7 separate regions of the Homo sapiens genome follow, and regions 1, 2, 3, 5, 6 and 7 are each linked to region 4. Evidence: promoter capture Hi-C in human tissues and cell types (Jung and others, 2019). All regions are on one chromosome and are shown on one strand. The core of a region is centred on a gene start or on the middle of the fragment in contact, and the rest is flanking DNA. Distances in the headings are between cores, read along the strand shown. Region 1 has its middle 26 kb from the start of ONECUT3. Region 2 holds the start of WDR18 (WD repeat domain 18). Region 3 has its middle 1.8 kb from the start of UQCR11. Region 4 holds the start of EFNA2 (ephrin A2). Region 5 holds the start of R3HDM4 (R3H domain containing 4). Region 6 overlaps ONECUT3 (one cut homeobox 3). Region 7 holds the start of ONECUT3 (one cut homeobox 3).

Region 1 (3,183 bases), core at 418-2,917, 440 kb before region 4:
GCCTCTGCGTCCTTCCCCCCACATGCTCACACAAAGCACTTACACACTCACACCCACATTCACACGTGTACAAAGGCACAGCCGCTGAGTGCACCCTCTCACACGCATGCACACACACAAACACACACGAACACGCACAGGCGCACACACATGCACACACACAAAACCACACACGCACACACACGAAGCCACACATGTACATGCAGGAACACAACATGCACACACGGGAACACACAGGAGCACACACGAACCCACACATGCACATTCACACAACACACTTGTCCACACACCCTGCAGCTCACTTACACACACACACACACGAAACCACACGGAGCCACGCACGCTCGCGCACACTCTCGTAGGGCTGTCGTTGAACCATTCCTACGTTGAAAACCTAACCAGCCATTTCCAAACAGCACAACCTTTGTGAAAATCCAGCTTTTTCATCTTGCACACGAATCGGCCAACCTCCGCCTCCCTCTCCCTCCCCACTCAATAACCAGGTTAAAATAAAAATTGAATTCCAGGATCTGCTTTCAAAAATCACCCCACACAATCCGCCGGTCAATGCAACCTTCCTCAGCTGTTAGGAATTAGAAACGCAGCGGCAGAGGAAGGAGATGGAGATGTCAGGTGGAACGTTATGGGAAAAATATGAAATAAATGCAGATATCAGGGACTGTGTGAAGACCGAGGCTTACGTGCAGGACACAGAAGCTGGGAGGCCTGAGCAAAGTGGCCAGGGCTGAGTTTAGGGGGTGGAGAAGGCTACGGCCAGCGATTTTCTCCTTTTGTATTTCCTTTAAGGTGGTTACGGAGTTGCACAGAAGGTTTTCTTTTCTAAAACCACAGCGATTTGGGGTACATGTGGGATTAATGGAGACCTTTAAACAAATCTCTGAGCCCTGGACTTGGCATGGCACGTATATCAAAAGCATCATGCGTGCTAAATATTAAAACATTTACGGCCAGGCGCGGTGGCTCATGCCTGTAATCCCAGCACTTTGGGAGGCCAAAGTGAGCGGATCATGAGGTCAGGAGTTCGAGACCATACTGACTAACATGGCAAAACCCTGTCTCTACTAAAAATACAGAAATTAGCCAGGTGTGGTGGCATGTGCCCGTAATCCCAGCTACTTAGGAGGTTGAGGCAGGAGAATCGCTTGTACACGGGAGGTGGAGGTTGCAGTGAGCAGAGATCACACCACTGCACACTAGTCTGGACAACAGAACGAGACTCCGTCTCAAAAAAAAAAAAATGCACAGATCTGTCAAATAAGCCAATCTTGTTTTTCACCCTTAAAGAAAGAAGAAATCTTCTTGGCTCCACACAGGGAACCCTAGCATTTTATAAGCAGCGTCTTTATTCTGACAATAACTCTTCTTTTGACAAAGTCCAGGTGTTCATTTGAATGAGCCCAAGTGGTTGTTGGGGGATTTGCGATTTTTTTTTTTTTTTTTTTTACTAAATTGGAATGTTTAGGGCACTACCCATATCCCCTTCAAAATAACCATAAGCTTTTCTCAAGTCTGTGACCTTGACTTGGGGCTTCCCCTCACAGGGCCTCTGTGTAATGGGAGTTTCGTTTGGACATGAAGATCTCACACTGTTCCTAAGCCTTTTAATTTCAACATTGCATTTATTATTTTTAAATTATTATTATTTTTTAGGCTGGGCGCAGTGGCTCACGCCTGTAATCCCAGCACTTTGGGAGGCTGAGGTTGGAGGATCACTTGAGGCCAGGAGTTTGAGACCAGCCTGGCCAATATGGCCAAACTCCGTCTCTACTAAAAATACAAAAATTAGTGGGACATGGTGGTGCGTGCCTGTAGTCCCAGCTACTTGGGAGGCTGAGGCAGGATAATTGCTTGAACCCAGGAGGTGGAGGTTGCAGTGAGCCAAGATCGCACCACTGCACTCCAGCCTGGGCGACAAAGCTAAACTCCATCTCAAAAAAATATATATATTATTTTTTAGAGATGGGGTCTCGCTCTGTTGTCCAGGCTAGTCTGGAACTGCTAGGCTCAAGCGATACTCCTGTCTCGGTCTCCCAAAGTGCTGGGATTACAGGCGTGAGCCACACCACACCTGGCCTATTATTATTATTTTTAATTAATTTTTGTAGGCAGAGTCTTGCTCTGTCGCTCAGGCAGGAGTGCAGTGGTGCGATCTCAGCTCACTGCAACCTCCGTCTGCTGGGTTCAAGCGATTCTCCTGCCTCAGCCTCCCGAGTAGCTGGGACTACAGGCATTCACCACCATGCCCGGCTAATTTTTGTACTTTTAGTAGAGACGGGGTTTCTCCAAGTCGGCCAGGCTGGTCTGGAACTCCTGACCTCAAGGAATCCACTGCCTTGACCTCCCAAAGTGCTGGGATTACAGGCGTGAGCCACCGCGCCTGGCCCCTTCCTATTACTATTTTGAAATTTCATCTTTTTAATTTTAGATTCAGGAGTACATATGCGGGTTTGTTCCATGGGTATATGGTGTGATGCTGAGGTTTGGGATATGACCGATCCCGTCGTCATCCAGGTGCTAAGCATGGTACCCAGGAGTTTCTCAGCCCCTGTCCCCCACCTTCCCCGATTTAGAAGTCCTCAGGGTCTATTATTCCCATCCTCGTGTCCATGAGTACCCAATGTTTAGCCTCCACTGATAAGCGAGAACATGGGTACTTGGTTTTCTGTTTCTGCTTTCATTCGCTTAGGATAATGGCCTCCAGCTGCACGTATGTTGCTGTAAAGGACACGATTTCGTCCTTTTTCGTGGCTGTTCAACATCGCATTTCAATTTAAGGAACGGTCCCTCCTTATGGGGTGGTGGGTTCCAGGCTGCGACGGTGTGGGACCCAGCAACGCGGGAAGATGTTTTAGCTTTGCTTGGAGGGTGCAGATGTCAGCACGGCGTGGCAGAGAGAGTCTGAAGCCCTCGAGCCACACTCTCTGGGCTCCAGGCCCCTTGCACCTCATAAACCCTTTGCGCCTTGGGTAATCCCCGGGCCCTCGTGAGCCTCAATTTTCCTGTCTAGGGAATGGAGAGCAGCCCGCCCAGGGAGATGGCCGGGGCGGCGGTCAGGGGGTCCGTGCATGTCCGGGAGGAAGGTCCTGGCCGCCCCTGCCCCCACCCAGCCGTACCCTCGCCCCCCGCCGCTGGAACCGTGCGTCCCCAAGATAAGAGACGGGT
Region 2 (3,360 bases), core at 664-3,163, 300 kb after region 4:
TGCCCGCTAGCCCTGGAAGATGCTGCGGTGTGTGAGTGCCGGGGACTGGGCTGCACCGGGCTCTATCCAAGCACTCAAGGCAGGATTAGGGCTGGTCTGGGATTCGCAAGTCTCGAGGGGACCTGGAGAAAGGAGGCAGCAGGGTGAAGCTTAGGCTATAACCCCTGAGCAGTCACCCATCCCAGGGCCCCAGGCCGCATGGTTGTTCCCTGGTGCCCTGCAGGCAAAGCTCAGATGGGCTGAGATGTCCTGTGGGAAACGCTCACGCTTTGCTCCTCTTACCTCCCACAGGTGGATGCTTTCTGCAACTCCTGCCAGGACGTAGAGACCATTGGGTGATGCAGTCAGACAGGTGACAGGCCCGGGGCACATGATCTTCTGCTGGAGCTGGTCCTAAGGATGCACAGTCAGCCTCGTGAGCCCCATGCAGGACACGGGAGCTACTACAGCAGTGGAGGGCGAGGGGAGGGGACGCCTGGGCAATGGCTAAGTCAGAGAACCAGGAAGAGGAGTCGGGAGCAGGGTGGTTTGAGCAAATGCATGGTCCAGCAAGGAAGTGTTCGCCCCTGCAAGAGGCTTCGAGGCTGGAGGTGGTAGATGTGAGGTTGGTGCTTCCTCTGAGGGTCAGAGGGGCCCTGGGTGGGAGGAGTACAGGAACAGAACAAAGAGGATCCAGAAGGACACTGGGGCCCAAGAGCCCAGTAGGCTTGTGCCCCAATCCTTCTATCCATAATGTCCAACCTAAGACCCCAAGCCTCAGCTTCCTCCTCTCTAAAATGGGAAAACTCAGCCGGGCGTGGTGGCTCACGGCTGTAATCCCAGCACTTTGGGAGGCTGAGGTGGGCAGATCACTTGAGGTCAGGAGTTCGAGACCAGCCTGGCCAACATGGTGAAACCCTGCCTCTACAAAAAATACAAATGTGGGCCGGGTGTGGTGGTTGGTGCGGGCCTGTAGTTGCAGCTACTCAGGAGGCTGAGGCCCGAGAATCGCTTGAACCCTAGAGGCAGAGGCTGCAGTGAGCCGAGATCGCACCACTGCACTCCAGCCTCAGCGACAGAGTGAGACCCTGTCTCAAAACTAAAATAAAATGGGAGAAATTTATGAGTTGTGTGTAGACTCCATCAGGCAATGCTGGAGCACAGAGCCAGTCCCAAGAGATCTCAGCGGGCACACGGGGGAAGCGAGTAGCTTCAGGGACTGGCTGCATTTGGGCTTGGGAGTAGAGGGGAAACTGTGGGCGACGGTGAGTATCTGTTGCTTTATTGGAGGAATAAACATGAGTTTCCTGCGCCACCCCTTCATGGGAGACTCCCCCAGACCTTGGTCCTTCTCCCTTTTCCTCCAGAACCACAACATCCACAGAGCTCATAGGCCCCTTTTAATCAAATTTCGCGCTCCAAGAACTCGTGCATGCGCAATTGCCCCAAGGGACCCCCCGGAGCGTCTCCCATTTTCCCCCACTGCCCCCATAGCAGCTCAGGCCTGAGCCCCGCGCGTGCGCAGAGCGGCCTAACAGGTCGCACGTATCTCCCCAAAGCCCCCAGACCCGCGCATGCGCAGAGCGCCCGAACGGAGACCACCTCCCCTCCCCACGCCAATTCCGACTAAGGGTGCACGCGGCCCCCACCAACCCATCCCCCGACTTCAGCCTCGGGCGCCCCATGACCCCAGCAGCGAGACCGCACCGCCGCACCTTCCGCTGGAGCTCCCAGGCGCTGATGTAATTCTTGCCCAGCTGCGCCGCCAGCAGATACTCGCCATTGAGCAGCGCCAGGCCGCGGGGTCCCGCCTGGCCGCCGCGGTAGGTGAGCAGGTTGGCGCCCGAGTGAAGTTCCCACACGATGCAGCTCCACATCGGGGCCGCCGAGTCCGTACACACGGCCACCTCCATGGGCGCCGCCATCTTGCCTTCCCCACCGCCCCGGACGTGCGTCATCATGAGCGAGACGCGGACGACTGCCCCACGCGGGCCAGAGCGGCGGCCCCGCGGCCCCAGCGGGTGGCCGACCCGCGCATGCGCCCGTGCCTCGGAGAGAGGGGCTTTCTTGTGAAGTGGGATTTCCCGCTTACCTGAGACTCGAGGGTCGCGCGGCCTGCTTAGAGATCTGGGGAGGCGACTTCTTCCAAGGCCCAGGGTCTCCGGCGATCAGTTAGTAGCTCTAGAGCCGGGGTACCTGACTTGGCCTTTTCCTCCTGGGCATTTTTGGCCAAGTGACTCAAGCTCTTGGATTCATTTATTTTTAAATGTTCAAATAATAAAGTTCCGACGTCACAGGCCTAAATGACACATTGCGCCTAAAAGAGAGAGCGCACACCCAGCAACATGGCTAGTTGGCGATGAATACATTGGAATTCACTGCTTCCTTATTTATTTAGTTTTGTAGAGCCAGGGTCTCACTGTCCTGCCCAGGCTGGCCTCGAACTCCTGAGCTCAAGTGATCCTCCCAGCTCGGCCTGCCAAAGTGCTGGGATTACAGGCGTGAGCCACCGCGCCCGGCCCAGTGTTTCCTTATTGGTCGACATCTGCCTCCCCCTTGACCCCTCTTTAGGGGCCTCAACATCTAAATTATTAGTCGGATAGCTTGGTGTAGGTCAAACAAGTCGCCAGTTCTGTCCGAGCCAAGCAGGGTCTAACTTCATGTCACGGCTGCCCGTCACGGACCATGTCTGAAAACGGCATTCAAAAAAAAAAAAAGGCCGGGCGCTTTGGCTCAGGCCTGTAATCCCAGCACTTTGGGAGGCCGAGGTGGGTGGATTACCTGAGATCAGGAGTTCGAGACTACCCTGGCCAACATGGCGAAACCCCGTCTTTACAAAAAGTACAAAAAGCCGGGCGTGGTGGGAGGCTGAGGCAGGAGAATCGCTTGAACCCGGGAGGCGGAGGTCTCAGTGAGCCGAGATCCCAGGCACTCCAGCCTGGGCGAATGAGACTCTGTCTCAAAGAAAAACATATATCTATTATTTATTTATACTAAATATATATCTAGTAGAGATGGGGGGTCTCACTGTGTTGCTCAGGCTGGTCTCCAACACCTGGGCTTAGGCCTTGGCCTCTTAAACCGCTGGGATTACAGGCTTCAGCCACAACGTCCGGCCTAAAAACAGTATGATTTAAAATGTGCAATTAGTTGCCAACCCCTTAAAAAGGGATAAAAAGGGAGCATTCATTTAAAAGTCGGGATTTCCGCCCGGGGGTTGCAGCTGACCTGGGTCGTGTGCCCTCGAGCAGCAAGAGGCAGGGGCTGGAGGCTGCATGCGGGGTGCGGTCCCCGGAGGCGGTGCGACTCCTGGTCCGCGGCTCCCGGCGGAGGGCACGGCCGGGGCAGGAGGCTGGTGCCAGAGCGTGCGGCGCCGCAGCC
Region 3 (3,367 bases), core at 302-2,801, 320 kb before region 4:
CGAAGTCTGAGTCTGTCACTGCTCCTCTGAAACCTTCCACGGCTCCGTTGCTGGCAGCGTCAACCCCACACTCCTTAGTGCGGCATCTGTGACTTCCTCCACAACCGGATGCCCACGGAACCCACGGACAGAGCTCTCGGGGGGAAGGGGTGTGGCAGGACCTGTGGGGGCGCTGCTCATCCCAAAGTGCCCACTGGCAGGCATCTGCTGCTGTGCCCAGGGACTTGGCCGCTGCATCTCTGCGAGGACACAGCTGGACTGCCCTGCTCCCCTACAGGGTTGGGGTGGAAGGAGTGCCTTCCTGGCCACTTGACGGGGGGTGGCCCCCAGGAGAGAGCCCTTTGGCACACAAGTGCCTTAGGGAGGAGAAGGCTCAGCACAGTGACTCATATCTGTAATCCCAGCACTTCAGGTGGCTGAGGCGGGAGGATCGCCTGAGGCCAGGAGTTCCAGTCCAGCCTGGGCAACATAGTGAGACCCCATGTCTATAATTTTTAAGGGAAAGAGAGTGGCCAGGAGTTGACAGAAGGTGCTGAGGGAGCCCTGTCCACCACTCTACCCAGCTGGCCTCTAAATTCATGCTGGAAAACAACTTTTAAAATATACATTGGCCGGGCGCGGTGGCTAACGCCTGTCATCCCAGCACTTTGGGAGGCTGTGGCGGGTGGATCACTTGAGGTCAGGAGTTCGAGACCGGCCTGGCCAACATGGCGAAATCCCATCTCTACTAAAAATACAAAAATTAGCCGGGCATGGTGGCGCAAGCCTGTAATCCCAGCTATTTGGGAGGCTGAGGCAGGAGAATAGCTTGAACCCAGGAGGCAGGGATTGCAGTGAGCTGAGATTGCACCACTGCACTCTAGCCTGGGCGACAGAGCGAGACTGTCTCAAAAAATCAAAATTAAATTGGTTGTACCTGGTGACACACACTTGTAGTCCCAGCTACTTAGGAGGTTCAGGTGGGAGGATCGCTTGAGGTGGCAGTGAACTGTGATTGCACCACTGCACTCCAGCCTGGGCAACAGAGCCAGAACCTGTCAAAAAAAAAGGGTGGGCCAGGTGCAGTGGCTCATGCCTGTAATCCCAGCACTTTGGGAGGCCAAGGCGGGCGGATCACGAGGTCAGGAGATCGAGACCATCCTGGCTAACGGTGAAACCCCATCTCTACTAAAAATACAAAAAATTAGCCAGGCGTGGTGGCGGGCACCTGTAGTCCCAGCTACTCGGTAGGCTGAGGCAGGAGAATGGCGTGAACCTGGGAGGCGGAGCTTGCAGTGAGCCAAGATCATACCACTACACTCCAGCCTGCAGCCTGGGCGACAGCAAGACTCCGTTTCAAAAAAAAAGGGTGGAGGGGACATCCAGATGGTCCAACAAAATAACAAAAACCGGCTCAAGAAACAAAAAGGAAGTTCTATGTCATGTTGAATGGCTTCAGGCACAGCTGGATCCAGGTGTCATTACAAATCTCTCTCCATCTCTCAGCTCTTGTTTATGTCACTGTCTCTGATGAACTCTTTTTTTTGTCTGTTTGTTTTGAGACGGAGTTTCACTCTTGTTGCCCAGGCTGCAGTGCAATGGCGTGATCTCGGCTCACCGCAACCTCTGCCTCCCGGGTTTTCAAGCAATTTTCCTGCCTCAGCCTCCCGAGTAGCTGGAATTACAGGCATCCGTCACCATGTCCGGTTAATTTTGTATTTTTAGTAGAGATGGGGTTTCTCCATGTTGGTCACGCTGGTCTCGAACTCCCAGTCTCAGGTGATCTGCCCGCCTCAACCTCCCAAAGTGCTGGGATTATAGGCGTGAGCCACCGTGCCCGGCCACTGGTGAACTCTTACATTGTGGCATCTGGAAACTCTGGGCTGACATTCCAGCAGCCCTTGTGTTCCTGTCCTTTCTCTTAATAGTCTCTGTGTCAGCCCCTGCATCCCACTTTTTTAAGTTTCCACCAATGGGAAGAGTCTTATTCAGGTGCTCTCTGATCCCAAGCTCAAAAACCCCAAGCCAACTGGAAAGTTCTACAAACAATGCCCAGGGCCGGGCCCGGTGGCTTACACCTGTAATCCCAGCATTTTGGGAGGCGGATCACTTGAGGTCAGGAATTCAAGACAAGCCTGGCCAACATGGCCAAACCCCATCTCTACTAAAAATACAAAAACTAGCCAGGTGTGGTGGCTCACGCCTGTAGTCCCAGCTACTTGGGAGGCTGAGGCAGGAGAAGCTTGAACCCGGGAAGCGGAGGTTGCAGTGAGCCGAGATCGTGTCATTGCACTCCAGCCTGGGCCACAGAGCGAGACTCCGTCTCAAAAAAAAAAAGAAAGAAAAACAGTGCCCAGACTGTGGTGTCCAAAACCTATTTCCGGCTCCCACCCTGAGTCCTTAACCAGGGATAGGGATGGGTTAGCACCCGCAGTCCCCAGAGAGCTGCAGGCTTGGGGTGTACTGAGGGGCTGACCCCAGGAGGACAGGCCAGGCTGGGCAGAAGAACCCACGGTGTCCATTCCTTATCACGAGGCCTGCAAGTGACGCTGGCGCCCGAGAGACAAATCACGCCCAGTGCCCCGTCTAGGCTATGGCCTTTCCGTTCATGCTGTAAAGGTGCCTGTGGGTCAGGCAGTCCAGGAGGGCTTCCTGAGGGAGGCAACTCTTGAATATGGGGGAAAAGGCACAAAAGTGCAATGGCGGTGTCTGGGAATATGCCCCTCTTCCTTCTGCCCACACCGGCCCGGTGTGCAGGGGGGAGGCTGGAAGCTGGGAGCTGAGTGAGCATGTACGGTGCTGCGCCGGGTTGTGGGAGAGCAGAGGAAGCAGGGACTGGAGAAAGGCGAGCCCAAGCGAGCCTGGTGCGGTGGAAAGCAGGAGGCAGAAAGACCTGCCTGTCATCAGCTAAGAGCATCCAGAGACGTTCACCGAGCAAGGAGCCAGGCCACCCTCTGCTGCCGGAATGAGGAATAACCCAGGCTCGCAAACGGAATCCTGCAAAGAGATTTCCGACAGGGCCTCCAAGCAACGGGCAACGCTGAGGCTCAGGGAAGCACTGCCGCTCGACCAAAGTCCTACAGCGAATCAGGAACAACGCCTGACGCCTCCAAAAGTGGGCTCCAATCCCAGCTCTTCCCCTCTGTGTGACTCTGAGCAAGACCCTTCCCCGCTGGACCTCAGTTTCCTTCATTGTAAATAACGTTCTGGCACATACTAGGCGCACAAAATCACTGGCAGGTAGCCCCGCGGAGCCCAGAAGCACAATCGGCCGCCAGACCACGTGGCCAGAAAGCACCGCCCTAACGCCGCCCACTCCGGACCACTTCTCCGCGGTCGTCCAACCCTCGCCGGAAGTTACTGTAAGTGGCTTCCGGGTCTGCGCGCA
Region 4 (3,369 bases), core at 280-2,779:
TAGCAGAAGAGTGGGGGGGGGCCGCCTCAGCCCCCGATGTGCAGCTCCGTGTGCCTTAGGAAGACGGTGACACCCTGAGTGCTGGGGCTGACTCCCTCCCGAGCCCCAGGACCCCCAAAGCCCCGGCTCCCACGGGACCCCCAGGGAAGCTGCAGCCTGCTCCTGTCTTGGAGACCCTGGGATGGTTCAGAGGGTTCTACCCACGTCCAGGCCATGGCCAGGCCCCGGCAAACTTTTTTTGCTCTGACCAACGGGGGCTTCTCCTGTCCCCCACGTTGTGCCTGGCCCGGACCTGGTTCAAAACAAGGGGGCCTGCAGCAGGCGGGTGCGGCATCTCGGCCGGGCGTGGCAGGCAGGGCACTGGGCCACCTGGGTCCTGCCCCCAAGTCCCCCCCTTGCATGACCTTGAGCCAGCTCCTCATCCCCTCTGCACCTCAGTTTCCTGGTCAGCGCCCAGAGGACAAGAGAGGACTCCATCCCACTGCCCCTCCCGGGGCTGACCCCCAGCTCCCCGGCCCCTCAGTCTCCTTTCAAAGCTGGGCCCTTGGCCCCCTGGAGTGAAGCAGATGCTGGGTCCTGAGGGAGGGACACTCCAACTTCCCCAAGTTCATCTGGGGACCTGCGGGCAGGACGAACCCAGAGATCCCTCGAGGGCCACAGTCCCCCACCTCCGGTGCCAAGGTCCCCGGGGATCCCCACCAAATGCGAAACCGAGGGGGCTCCCCAGAGAAGCGGGTGGATCAGGGGTCCCCCCAAGTCCAGGCAGGCAACTCAGGGGCTACCCGGCATCGGAGGGTACCAGAGGGGTTCCCCAAACTCCAGGAGACGTCGGCGCTCTGGGGGATGTGGGGCGCGAGTCCCCACAGTCCGTAGGGCAATGGGGCGCCCCGGGGAAGGCAGGCGCGAAAAGGGCGAGTCCCCCAAACTCCGGGGGGCCGGAGCTCCCTGGGGGGCTCCCGCGGGAACCGGGCGCCCGCATCCCGGCGGCGGCGCGCGCGTGGGGGGCGCCCGGAGCTCCGGGGGCGCGAGGCCGGGCGCGGCTTGGGGGGCGTTGGGGGGTCCCCGGGCGCCCCCCGCGCGCGGCCGCGCTCACCTGGGGTTGCTGCGGTTCCAGTAGACGGCGTAGCGGTCCGAGTTGGCGCGGGCGGCGTCCTCGGCGCGCGCGAAGGGCGGCGGCGGCAGCGGTAACAGCAGGAGCAGCAGCGGGAGCAGCGGGCGCTGCGCGGGCGCCATGGCCCCGGTCCGGCCGCCGCGCTCGCTCTCCCGGCCGCCGCCTGCCAGCCTTCTCCGCCTCCTCCGCCGCCGCCGCCGCCGCCGAGCGGGCGGGCGGAGGGCGGGCGGGAGGAGGGCGCGGCGGCGCTTGGAGATCCCGGGCCGCCCCCGCCTCCGCGCGCGCGACCTCGGGCGCCGAGAAGTCAGGCGGCGGCGGGGCGGGGCGCCGGGGTCGCCCCGGGCGCAGGACCCGGCCGCGCGGACTGTCGGAGCGCGGGCCGCCGCCGCCGCACCCGCCGGGGAGGGGCCCGGGCTCCGGCCTTTGTCCCGCCCGAGCGTCGGGAGGGCCGCGGGCGCCCCCTCCCGCCGTGCCCCGGCCGCGCGGGGACTGGGCGGGGGTCTCCAGCCTGCGCCCGCCCCCTGCCCCGGCCCACCCCGTCTCAGGCTCGTCCCCCGGGGCCTGCCCCCAGCGACCCCGATTCTGCGCGCCCCCCGCCGGCATCCGCGTGGCCCGGCCTGGGGTCTCCGAGGGGCGGGGGCGCACCCTGCCTCCCGCGCCCCCACGCGCTCCACCCGGCCCGGCCCTGGGTCCCGGGCCTCTCACCTGCCCGGTTCCAGCGCTATCCGCAGCCTCACCAACCCCGACGCACGCGTCCCAAATCGGGCTCGGCCAACTCCAGTCTCCCTGCGGGGGCCGGGGCAGAGTTTCAGAGGGGCGCTGGCCAAAGTCCAAAGCTGCTCGGGCTGCGACCTCCCTGGGGCCCTCCTGGGAGTCGCCTCTCCGGACCCACGCTGTTCCCTGGGGATGGAGTAAGTCCCTACACCTCAGCCCTAAGGGTGCCGGGAGCATAGTAGGTGGACCGATGTGGAGTGTGAGCAGCTGGGGATGGGATCCAAGAAGCCCAGAGTGAAGCCCCGGCCGACAGCAAATCAGTCTCCACGCACGAATCCTGCAGGCAGGGGAGGGCCGCTGCCCGGGGGCACAGCTTGTGCAAAGACCCGGGGTCTGATCTGTTCAGGGAACGCCGAGTGATTTCTCCTCCTGGTAGGCTGACACAGGTGGGGAACTGGGGGCCTGGCCTCTGCTTTGTCTTTTTTCCAATCTATAGAGACAGTGTCTGGCCATGTTGGCCACGCTGGTCTTGAACTCCTGGGCTCAGGCGATCTTCCCACCTGGGCTTCCCAAAGTGCTAGGATTACAGGCGTGAGCCACTGCACCTGGCCTGCCCTCTGTTTTTGCCCTTATTCATGCCACAGCCTCCCTCACCAGACTCTGAGCTTGTGGAGGGTAGGCTGTCATCAAACGCTGGCTGGACTTTGCTGGCGATGCCCAGATCGTGTTGTACGTCTCTGAATTAGTGTCATTCACCAGGCCCAGTGCAGGAGAGGGAACTGCAGGGCAAGCACCAACAGCCCTTGGACCCGAAGGTCCCTGTGTGAGGCATTACCCAAACTCCTGGCAGGGACCGTGAACCCAGAGATGGGCAAGCTAACCTGTGCCCCAGCAAGGTGGGGTGGGGACCGGACCCACCACCGTCCCACAGCTCTGAGACGTGGTGGGCTCTGTCCTGTGTCTCCTGCGTGCCCTCCTCCCCCGATTCCCCAGCGGGCCACGCGGGCCACACCACCTGACCTTTGTTCAGGCTGGGTCCTGCTGGGAAGTCCTTCCACTTTTTCTTCCTGTTAAAATCTTGCTCTTCCAGAAAGGTCTGTCCCACCCAGTGCTCTAGCGTCCCTGCCAGGACAAGGTTCTCAGTTCTCTCTCCTCCAGGGAGCTCAGCCCGTCTGTTCTGAGCTCCAGGTCTCATCCCCTGACCCCACTACAGACGTCCCAGGTCGAAGGCCCAGGGCTGGCCGGGTGTCTCTTCAGTGGAGGGCGTGAACCTGTCCCAGGTGGTGGCTGAGGCAGGCCCTCTGGACAGGCTCTCTCAGCACCCCTGGAGTGAGGGCCTTGGGTTCTAGCCACACAAGGCTCTGTAGCCCAGACAGGCTGGAGAAGCTTCCCGGGCGGCTCCGTCTGGTGGGGGGCTCTTTTAGGGAGGGGGACGGCCACTCCCGGAGGTGAGCACTTTCGGAGCAGAGTGTGGCGGCTGCACCCAAGCACAGGACAAGGGGCCGTGAGCCTGGGGTCTTGGCGTGCCCGGCCCCAGCATGCCA
Region 5 (3,156 bases), core at 295-2,794, 370 kb after region 4:
CCTGCCACCATGCCCGGCTAATTTTTTGTATTTTTGGTAGAGATGGGGTTTCACCGTGTTAGCCAGGATGGTCACAATCTCCTGACCTCATGATCCACCCGCCTCGGCCTCCCAGAGTGCTGGGATTACAGGCGTGAGCCACTGTGCCTGGCTATTTTTTTTTTTTTTTTTTTTTTTTTTGAGACAGAGTAGTCTTACTCTGTGGCCCAGGCTGGAGTGAAGTGGACGGCTCCCTGCAACTTTTGCCTCCCATGTTCAAGCGATTCTTGTGCCTCAGCCTCCCATGTAGCTGGGACTATGGGTGCATACCACCACGCCCGGCTAATTTTTGTAGTTTTAGTAGAGATAGGGTTTTGCCATGTTGGCCAGGCTGGTCTCAAACTCCTGACCTCAAGTGATCCACTGGCCTTGGCCTCTCAAAGTGCTGGTATTACAGGTGCGAGCCACCGTGCCCAGCCTCCCTCTTGCTTTATTTTATTTTATTTTATTTTTTTGAGATGGAGTCTCGCTCCTCGCCCAGACTGGAGTGCAGTGGCACGATCTCGGCTCACTGCAAGCTCCGCCTCCCGGGTTCACGCCATTCTCCTGCCTCAGCCTCCCGAGTAGCTGGGACTACAGGCCCCCGCCACCACGCCCGGCTAATTTTTTGTATTTTTAGTAGAGAGGGGGTTTCACTGTGTTAGCCAGGATGGTCTCGATCTCCTGTCCTCGTGATCCGCCCACCTCGGCCTCCCAAAGTGCTGGGATTACAGGTGTGAGCCACCGCGCCCGGCCCTTTCTTTTTATTTTAGAGATGGGTTTTCATCATGTTGCCCAAGCTAGTCTCAGACACCTGGACTCAAGTGATCCACTGGCCTTGGCTTCCCAAAGTGCTGGGATTACAGGCGTGAGCCACCACGTTGGCCACCAGGCCTAATTTTAGAGAAGAGTAAACTGAGGCTAAGCAGGGGAAGGGGTTGCCTAGCCGAGGCTCCAGGGCTGGGAGGGGCAGGTGGAAGGAAGGCTCGGGCAGTTTTAATTTCCGCCATCCTCTGCCTCCAAGAAGAACGTCCCCTCCCTCGTCGATGCTCAGGCCTTAGTTTCCCTGTCCGTGTCTCCTCGCCTCCCTGGGCTGGATTCCTGGCTCAGTCCGCAGCCCGGATCGGGACGCAGGGTTGTGGTTGAGTTTTCGACCCCTCGCCTAGGTGTCCCTCCTTCCCGGAGCTAGATTTCTGGGTGTAGGGATCGTGGCCGGCCCCGCCTCCCGCCTCAGTCTCCCCGTTCGTCCCCCCAGGGGCTGGATCCCGGCCCCGCCTGCCTCGGTTTCCCCGTTCGTTCCCTGATGGCTGGATCCCGGCCCCGCCTGCCTCGGTTTCCCCGTTCGTTCCCTGTTGGCTGGATCCCCGCCCCGCGCGCCTCGGTTTCCCCGTTCGTCCCCCCAGGGGCTGGATCCCCTCCCCGCGCGCCTGGGTTTCCGCGTTCGTTCCCGGCAGCCGGGAGGTGGGCGCCCCCGCCCCGCCGCGCAGCCCCAGGCCCCGCCCCTGCCCGCCTCCGGGCGCCCGTCACTTCCTGCCCGGCCCGGTGAAGGCCCTGCCGGGCGGCGGCGGCGGCGACAGCGTGCGAGCCATGGTCGCGCTGGAGAACCCCGAGTGCGGCCCGGAGGCGGCGGAGGGCACCCCGGGCGGGCGGCGGCTGCTGTGAGCGCGGGCGGGCGGGGCGCGGCGGGCGCCGGGGGCGGGCTGGGCTCCCTCCCCTGAGATCCTCTCCCCGCCTCCCCTCCCCTCCTTTCCCTTCCCTCCCCTCGTTCCCTTCGTTCCCCTCGCTCCCGTTGCTCATCTTCCGGGGCTTCAGCCTGTCCTGCCTTCCCTTCTCGCCCGCTGTGGACCCCCAGGCTGGGTGGGGGGTCTTCATTGTTACTCAGCGGGGACACCCTCCTGGCGCTCCGGGGGCTCGCTGGGGGAGGGGACCCGGATCCACGTCCCCATTTACCTGTTCCGCCCCCTACTCCCCGGTCCGCCCCCTAATCCCCGGTCCGCGCCCCACTCCCCGGTCCGCCCCCCCACTGCACTGGTCCGCGCCTCCATTCCCGGGTCCACCCCCTCACTCTCCGGGTCCGCCCCCCAACTCCTCGGTCCGTGCCCCCACTCTCCGGTCCGCGCCCCCACTTCCCGGGTCCGACTCCCCCCACTCCCGGGTCCGCGCCCCCCCACTGCCCTGATCCACGCCCCCACTCCTGGGTCCGTCCCCCCACTCCCTGCTCCACCCCCCCACTCCCCTGGTTCTTGCCCCCATTCCTGGGTCCGCCCCGCAACTCCTCGGGTCAGCCCCCCAACTCCTCGGTTCCACCCCCCAACTCCCTGGTCCGTGCCCCTACTCTCTGGTCTTCGCCCCCACTCCCGGGTCCGCGCCCCCACTCCCGGGCCCGCCCCCCAACTCCTCTGTCCGACCCCCCCACTGCCCTGGCCCACGCCCCGACTCCCGGGTCTGTCCCCCCACTCCCCAGTCCGCCCCCCAACTCCCTGGTCCACCCCCCCCACCTCCCCGGGGCCGCGCCCCCACTCCCGGGTCTGTCCCCCCACTCCCCGGTCAGTCCCCCAACTCCCTGGTCCGCCCCCCACACTCCCGGGTCCGTCCCCCCACCTCCCCAGTCCGCCCCCCAACTCCCTGGTCCACCCCCCCCCCCACCTCCCCGGGGCCGCGCCCCCACTCCCGGGTCTGCCCCCCCACTCCCCGGGCCCCGAGGTGCCAGCCATGGAGCCTCCCGCCAGAGGGTCCTGGGCCCCTGTCCGCGGGTCGGGGTTCACCCACGTGGCCATGCGCTCCAGCCTGGTCCCTGCCGCACGCCCGGCCCCACTCGCCCTCTGGGCTTGTCCGCGCCCCCTGCCTTTCCGGGCAGACCCGGCTCCTTGCTCTCCTTTGGGTAAATCCCTACAACCCTTGTGGGTTAAAACCTGGCAAGCAGGAGCCCGCGCGTCCTTCCCGGGGGACCCGGAAGCGGGGCGGTCTGTGCGGGGGTCAGCCGTGTGTCACCCCGGCCCGCACAGGGACCCGGGGACCCAGGGTGCGCCCCTGGGGTCCGTGTTGGTGGAGGGCGAGGAGGCGGCGCGTGTTCCGTTCCTGCCTCCTCCGTGTGCGGACGGCGCCACCTGGGCAGGTTATTTCATGCTTCCATGCCTC
Region 6 (3,299 bases), core at 527-3,026, 490 kb before region 4:
TAGCTTCTTCCTCTATCGGGAAGCCCTGGTTTCTCCCATTCAAATACACCTTCATTCACTGGGGCCTCCGTTCACTTTAGACTCCAGAAAGCAATGAGCAGTGATGTCACAGAAGCAGGTCCTGACAAGGTGTGCATCTTGGGGCTTGGTTGACTCAAAGGCGCCAAGCTTTTCCTTCTAAGGCGCCAAGCTTTTCTTTCTGATTCTTTTTTTTTTTTTTTTTTTGAGACGGAGTCTCACTCTGTCGCCCAGGCTGGAGTGCAGTGGCGCGATCTCGGCTCACTGCAAGCTCCACCTTCCGGGTTCACAGCATTCTCCTGCCTCAGCCTCCTGAGTAGCTGGGAATACAGGCGCCCACCACCATGCCTGGCTAATTTTTTGTATTTTTTAGTAGAGACGGGGTTTCACCGTGTTAGCCAGGATGGTCTTGATCTCCTGACCTCGTGATCCGCCTGCCTTGGCCTCCCAAAGTGCTGGGATTACAGGTGTGAGCCACCGCGCCTGGCCTCTTTCTGATTCTTACCATTCCCTGTGGGTGGTGGACTTGTGTGGGTGGTGGAGTTGTGTGGATTGTGGAGGCTCAGAGCTGGCCACTGGCCCAGGAAGAAGACGGGACTCAGAGCAGAGAGGGGCGAGCTGGGTGGAAGCAAAGTCCGTCTTCCCTGCACTCCGGTCCTCCCTCCCCAGCCTCGAGGTGGGCGAGTTCCATTCCCGCCCCCTATCTGTGCCCGACCCGTCAGCTAACACACACGCCCAGGTGAGTGACTAGAAAATAATTTATTGAAGAAAAACAAATCAACAAACCCAGCACAGCAATGGTTAACAATGACGAGATTTTTTTTTTTTTTTAGCTTTTAAGCCTGTCGCCCAAGGGTGAAGGTGGAAAAGGGCTTCTCTCCCCTGTCCCTGGAGGGGAGGGGACTTTGGAGGGTCCAAGTGGTGTCTCCCCTGAAAGCAGCCCTCAGTTCCAGTCTATTCAAAACACTCAAGGCCGCAGGGCCTCCTGGCTCTTCCGTCACCCCCGGCTGAGCTCATTCCACCAAAACCAGCCCCTGCGTGGTCTGACAGGGCCACGAGGAGGAGCCCCAGGAGTCTACTGGCCTGATTTTGCTTAAACCGCTTGGGGCAGAGAATGTGAAATGGCCCAAGCTCCTGCTGGTGCAAGGAGCATCCTGGCCCCGGCATCATTTCAGATTTGAGGTCAGCTGAGCCCTCAGCCCCAGGCCCAGCCCTCCAGACCAGGGCTTGCTGCTTTATGGGGTGAGAAGCACCCCGTTTAGCTACCCCGCCCCCCCCTACTGGGGCCTGTCCCAAAAGCGGCCCCTCTCATCTCTCCCCTGCCGCCCTCTCCTCCAGCCTCTGTTCCCAAGCTGGCACATCTGTGCCCCTTTCCACCTCCAGGGACTATCTGGGGATGGCTCAGGGACGTGGCCTCATGGCACAAGAGGAGTCAGAGGCAGAGGACATTGTCCCAGAGCCCCCTTTGATGATTTTGGGGAGTCCTCTGTTCTGTAGGCTCCGAAAGTGGGCTGGGAGGGAGGGGTCTCTGCAGGCGTACACCCCCTGCCTCCCGGGCTGGACAGAAAGGCGGACTCATGCCCAGCCCAGGGAGGGAGGCCGAGGCTGTCTGGGTGGAGGTGGGGGGGGAGGGGGTGCTGGTGCCTGCTGTTGGGGCCCTCAGGAGGGTCCTTCAGATCTCAGGAAGTTGGGGCACACTCCCGTCCCCCACCACCCTGGGCAACAAGACAAGAATAGGCTGATTGTCTGTCTCCTCTGAACAAGACACTTGGGAATTCATGCTAGAGTGAAAGCAACCGGGTGATGGGGGGTTGGGGGGGTCTAAGATATCGATGACACCAGAGTGCCCCCAAGAACCAGGAACTGAGGGGGGGACGCTCGGTGGCTCCCGCCTGGCTGGGGCAGGCAGGTGGCATCTCGGGTGGAGATGGACAGGCAGGTGGAGGAGACCCGGCTACTGAGGCTCTGTTCCCGCCCCCTCTACCTGGGGCCCCGTCCACCTGTCCCGGCTGGACACAGTTCCTTAGAAAGGAGGAAAGAAACAGTAACGAAAAACCACTGAACAGCACCGATCAGGCACCAGACACACAGATGCGACACGGAACCGGGCCACGCCCCCCGCCCCCCACCCTGACCACTTTATTACAATTAGCGTCAAGAAAGAGTACATTAGTCATGCACCAACTCAAATTCCATTTTGTCTTTTTTTTTTGCATTTTTCTTCCTTTTTTTTTCTTAAATTACATTTGAACACAGAACACAGAGAATAATAAATACTCTTATAAGACATGACTCCAGAAAACAAGAAACAGAACAAGCCAGAGAACAGAAAGGTATACCTCTGCCTCTCTCTCTCCCTCTCCCTCTCTCTCCCTCTCTCTCTCTCTTGCGCTCGCTCTCTCTCTCTCTTCCTTTCTTTCCTAAAGGACTCATTTAAATAAGAAATCTGTAAACGCCACTGGTCCTTTCTGCCGCAGTCTCTCTCGCGATCACGCTCCCTCTAACTTTCCCTCTGGTCTCCAGCCCTGACATTCAATGCGTCTCCCACGGAACTCGTCAAAGAAACGACATGCCATCGTCTGCAAAATTATAATTTAACGGTATAAAGCTTCAAGTCACGTATTCCAAAAACTAGCTAAGGATTTTTTTTTAATCACATAAACTATACATTAAATATTTTGAGGTATTTCAGAGAAAATTGTCAAAGGCTCGAAGGAATTGTGCTGGAGGTGTTGATCCCTGCATGGAGAACGCATGCTCTTTGGTATGTGACAGCCAAGTGGGCATGCGGGGAGGCAGGAGAGGGCCTGAGGGGCCGGCGGGCAGGTCGGGGATAGAGCCTTCTGTGGGGGTCTGGCCAAGTTTGGGGTGGGGTCCGGAAACAGGTAGGGGTGTGTGTGTGTGTGTGTGTGTGTGTGTGTGTGTGTGTGTGTGTGTGATACGAAGATATCTGAAAAGGATCCAGGAGTCCTGGGCCACTTTATTTATTTTTTTTTGTAGAAGTGGGGTCTTGCTGTGTTGCCCAGGCTGGTCTCAAACTCCTGGCCTCAAGCGATCCTCCTGTCTCGGCCTCCCAAAGTGCTGCTGGGCCACTTCTGTGACCAAGAGGCTTGACCTGATCTGACCACAGTTCAGCATAGCTAAAACATTCCACAACCAGAACGATCCCAAGCCAAGTCCTAAATTTCCAGCAGGGGACAAAACTGGAGGCCCCCTAGCGTGTTACCCTTGGGGCCTTGAAGGCCAAGCAGAGGGCATCTAGGAGACCCAGCACCCCGCCA
Region 7 (3,424 bases), core at 357-2,856, 470 kb before region 4:
CTACGCGCTCCCGAAAGGGGCAGAAGCGGCGACCGGGGGGCGGGGAGGCGGCACAATCCCTTTCTCCCTTTTGGCAACGGTACAAACGGGCAGCGGCGCGGATCGCGGTCTAGCTTCCTGATAGGGGGTCCCGGGCTGCCGGGGCGCACGGGCGGGGCTTGGGGCGCTGGCCCCGGGCATCGGCCGCCGCCCCGCTAGGTGCTCGGGAGTCCAGAGCCGGCGCCCCCAGGGTCTGGCCCTGCGCGCCACGCTCCTACCTGCCAAGCGCAGCGCCGACATGCGCTGGAACTCTGGCTCCTGCAGCCACTTCCACATCCTGCGGAAGGTCTCGCGGCCGGATTTGAGCTTGCTCCACGGCTTGGGGTTGCGCAGCAGGTCGGAGAGCGTGCCCTGAGAGCGACACAGGATCCGCTGCGCGAAGATTGCCTGCGGGATGCTGTAGCGCTTCAGCTCCGCCGTGATGCGCTGCGCCACCTCCTTGGTGTTGATCTCCTCGGCCGCTGCGCCCGCGCTGGGGCCGCCGCCGCTCCCGCCGGGGCCGCCGCCTCCCCCGTGCGGCCCGTGCGCCCCGGCCGCCGCCAGCCCGCCCAGCGGCGCCAGCAGCCCCGCGGCGCTCCCGCTGCCCGCTCCGCCGCTGCCTGTGCCGCCGCCGCCTCCGGGCAGCCCGCGGGCCAGTGCGTCCTCCGCGCGTCCCAGCAGCGCGGCGTGCGGCTCGAAGGCGGCGGGCGGCAGCAGCTTGTCCCCAGCCAGGTGGCCTGGCGGGCCGTAGGCGGCCAGCGGCGGGGGTGGTGGCGGCGGCGGGGGCTGCGGGGCGCCGTGCAGCGCGGGCGGCAGCGCGTTGGGCAGCGGCGACAGCGGCGACCCCATGGCGGGCAGCTCCTTGCCGTAGGGTCCGTAGAGGTGGCCCACGGAGGCGAGCGCCGCCCGCTCGTCGCGCATGAGGGTGAAGCTGCCGCTCACGCTGGCCGCCAGACGCTGCGGCGGGGGTGGCGGGGGCGGCGCGGCCGCCGGGTGCGGGTGCGCGTGGGGATGGCCGCCGTGCGCCCCGGCCACGGCCGCGGCCGCCGCGTGCTGGTGGAACTTGTCGGCCACGGCCGCGAGCGGCGGCAGGTGCTGCAGGGGCGTGAGCGTCGTGTAGGTGCCGCCCAGGCCCGGCGCCTCGCAGGCCATGCCCATTGCCGGGTGCAGCGGGCCCGCCAGTTCCCCGCGGAAGTCCGCGCCGCCGCCCGCGCTGCCCGCGCCGCCCGCGCCCCCGGCGCCCCCACCGCCGCCGCCGCCGCCGCCGTCCAGCAGGCTCGCCATGCCGGCCACCAGGCCCGGGCGCCCGGGCGCCACCAGGCCGCGGTGCTGCGCCGCCGCCGAGCGCGCGTGGCCCGGGCTCAGCAGCTCGCCCGCCTGCGCGTGGGCCACGCTGTGCAGGCCCCCCAGGCTCTCCAGGCTCAGCTCCATGCTCGGCTGCCCTCCCGCCGCGCGCGCTCCTCAGCGCCGGCCCCTAGTGCTCAAGGCCGCTGCATGACTCCCGCCCGCTCCCCGGTGGCTGCGCGCGAGGCTGCCAGGCTGCGCGGCGCACGGCCCGGCCCGGCTGCGAGCGCGGCCACCAGGATGTGGCAGGGGAGCGGCCGCCGGCGCCCGGGCCCGGGTCTGACGTCAGCGCCCCCGCCCACCCGCTCCTGCCACCGCTGCCTCCCGCAGCCTCGCTCTCCGCCCGCCCCGGCCCCACTCGAGCACCAAGCAGGCCGAAGTCGGCCAGACTTGGGGCTTCGGCGTCCCTGGCCACTGCGCCCGCCCGCGCCCGCTGGGGCAGGCCGTACCCGGGGGACAGCGGGCGGGGGTCCGAGGACAGACTCTGCCCAGGTGGGGCTGGGGGCCTCGACCCAGAGTCTCCGATTTCGCGTCTCTGTGTGATTCTCTCCAGAGTCCCAGATGTGGCTTTCTGCCTGGCACCCCCAAGTCCATCTCCAGGGAGTTTCTGGGAGTGTGGCTGGACGGTCGCCTGTAATGTACGTGTCCCCCCCCCCCCCCGTTCCCTACAGACCCCCAGGAGCTAGATCCCCACTGCAAGCTCAGCTTCCCCCGACTCCCACTCACACCTACGGAGTCACAGCCCCCTTCCCACAACCTCTTTGTGGAGGAAGTGGGGGAAAAGGGAGGTCCTAAGGCTAGGTCAGGGCCTCCGTGCGCCCCAGGGGTCAGCCTCTGCCCATGTGTGGGCACCTGGGCCTCCGTTTCCCCAACTGTACAATGGGCTGCCCGGCCTCGGGGTTGCCAAAGGCCCCTTCTAATTGCAGGGCCTTTTTACAGTGCGGCCGCTGGAGGCACTGGAGCCTGGGGGTGACCACTAAGAGCCCCTGTCACCCTCCAGCCCACGGAGGCTGAGGCTGGATCCCCTGTCTTCTGAGACGTCGCTGGTGCAAACTCCTCTTTGTCCCTGGGGCTTCTCTTCAATGTGGGGGGAGGCAGGGGTCTCCTTTTTCTCAGCACCTGGAGACAGGTGAGCCCCAGGGGCCCCTGGGAACTGGGATAGATGGGGGAAGGGCTCCTATAATCAGAGAGACCCCCAGGGGACTAGATCCCGCCAGTGGGGTAAGGTCAGGGCTGCGGATCTGGAGGGGCCAGACCAGAATCTAGAGGATGCTCTGTCTTGTAGGCCAGAGGCTACGGTGCAGAGTCCAAAACCAGCCTCAGCCCCTTCCTGCTTCCCCGTTGCCTCTGCCCCCCCCACCCCCGGGGTAACGCTTGTGCACTTTCTAGAAGAGGAAGGGGATGGGTCAGGCAGTCGGTTCGCGGGAGCCCCCAGTTACCCCCATCTCAGAGGGTTGCATCAGGGCTCAAAGCTGAAGGAAGAGGGGAGGACACAGTCAGGCTGTCACTTCCCCTTTGGTGCAAACCTTCTGGGCAAACCCCGGCCCCAGCTTTGCACCTGCATCCAGATTTCCTGGCCCCTGTAGACGTGGCTACACATTGGAGATGCGATTTTCTGAACCAAGACTAGGTTGGCTCTGGAATAGGGCCCTTTCTGTGCCTCAGTTTCCCCTTCTCTGGTGTGGGAGGGGGTGCCCTCCAGCCTGCCCAGCTGGGAGCCGGAGGTGAGTCTATGCTGACCACAACAGCCAGAGAGAGAGGGGGCCTGAATGATCTGGGCCCCCAGCCTGAGGTGGCCTGATCCAAGTCCTGGGGAGGGATAGGGCTGAAGGGGACCCCTGTTAGTACTCGCTGCTTAGGGCTCGGCATTTAGTAAGTGCCTGTTATTTACCAGGCATACTCTCCTCTCTCAGCCCCAGAGAGGGGGAAGTCAAATCACAATTTTTCCGGGTGTCTCTGGCCCAAGGTGGGGGGGTGGTGGCCCTAGAGTTCCCCCCTTCATTCCTACATCTGCCCAAGTGCTAACTCCTGCCCCCTGAAGTGTCGGTCCCTAAACTTTCCA

What was found. Contacts are between HindIII fragments. The study calls those that stand out against the background at their distance.
Region 1: a fragment that was not itself captured here is called in contact with the fragment with the promoter of EFNA2 in region 4 in 1 of the 25 tissues and cell types used here (aorta).
Region 2: the fragment with the promoter of WDR18 here is called in contact with the fragment with the promoter of EFNA2 in region 4 in 2 of the 25 tissues and cell types used here (dorsolateral prefrontal cortex and spleen).
Region 3: a contact is called between a fragment that was not itself captured here and the fragment with the promoter of EFNA2 in region 4, in 1 of the 25 tissues and cell types used here (dorsolateral prefrontal cortex).
Region 5: the fragment with the promoter of R3HDM4 here is called in contact with the fragment with the promoter of EFNA2 in region 4 in 3 of the 25 tissues and cell types used here (dorsolateral prefrontal cortex, lymphoblastoid cells and spleen).
Region 6: a contact is called between a fragment that was not itself captured here and the fragment with the promoter of EFNA2 in region 4, in 2 of the 25 tissues and cell types used here (aorta and spleen).
Region 7: the fragment with the promoter of ONECUT3 here is called in contact with the fragment with the promoter of EFNA2 in region 4 in 2 of the 25 tissues and cell types used here (lymphoblastoid cells and small bowel).

The regions. Positions count from the first base shown.
Region 1 is chr19:1,726,017-1,729,199 of GRCh38, reverse strand. No RefSeq gene overlaps it. Among named protein-coding and RNA genes, the nearest start is that of ONECUT3, 26 kb to the left of the region's middle. The HindIII fragment of the contact is 4,306 bases long and covers 1-3,183 here.
Region 2 is chr19:982,898-986,257 of GRCh38, reverse strand. WDR18 (WD repeat domain 18) reads right to left here and starts at 1,913. Exons shown (of 10, transcript NM_024100.4): 1 at 1,695-1,913; 2 at 283-393. The coding sequence starts at 1,904. RefSeq lists enhancers at 1,594-1,773, 1,804-1,953, 1,378-2,319 and silencers at 2,004-2,093, 3,258-3,360. The HindIII fragment of the contact is 34,067 bases long and covers 1-3,360 here.
Region 3 is chr19:1,605,542-1,608,908 of GRCh38, reverse strand. No RefSeq gene overlaps it. Among named protein-coding and RNA genes, the nearest start is that of UQCR11, 1.8 kb to the right of the region's middle. RefSeq lists enhancers at 238-307, 338-387, 1,870-2,491, 2,947-3,256 and a silencer at 3,317-3,367. The HindIII fragment of the contact is 3,073 bases long and covers 15-3,087 here.
Region 4 is chr19:1,284,033-1,287,401 of GRCh38, reverse strand. It overlaps EFNA2 (ephrin A2), which reads right to left and starts at 1,529. Exons shown (of 4, transcript NM_001405.4): 1 at 1,094-1,529. The coding sequence starts at 1,233. RefSeq lists enhancers at 1,444-1,944, 1,945-2,445. The HindIII fragment of the contact is 32,397 bases long and covers 1-3,369 here.
Region 5 is chr19:911,607-914,762 of GRCh38, reverse strand. R3HDM4 (R3H domain containing 4) reads left to right here and starts at 1,544. Exons shown (of 8, transcript NM_138774.4): 1 at 1,544-1,676. The coding sequence starts at 1,606. RefSeq lists a silencer at 1,387-1,726. The HindIII fragment of the contact is 36,901 bases long and covers 1-3,156 here.
Region 6 is chr19:1,778,524-1,781,822 of GRCh38, reverse strand. ONECUT3 (one cut homeobox 3) reads right to left here. Exons shown (of 2, transcript NM_001080488.2): 2 at 835-3,299. Among named protein-coding and RNA genes, the nearest start is that of ONECUT3, 27 kb to the right of the region's middle. The HindIII fragment of the contact is 3,194 bases long and covers 180-3,299 here.
Region 7 is chr19:1,751,688-1,755,111 of GRCh38, reverse strand. It overlaps ONECUT3 (one cut homeobox 3), which reads right to left and starts at 1,606. Exons shown (of 2, transcript NM_001080488.2): 1 at 258-1,606. The coding sequence starts at 1,449. The HindIII fragment of the contact is 24,245 bases long and covers 1-3,424 here.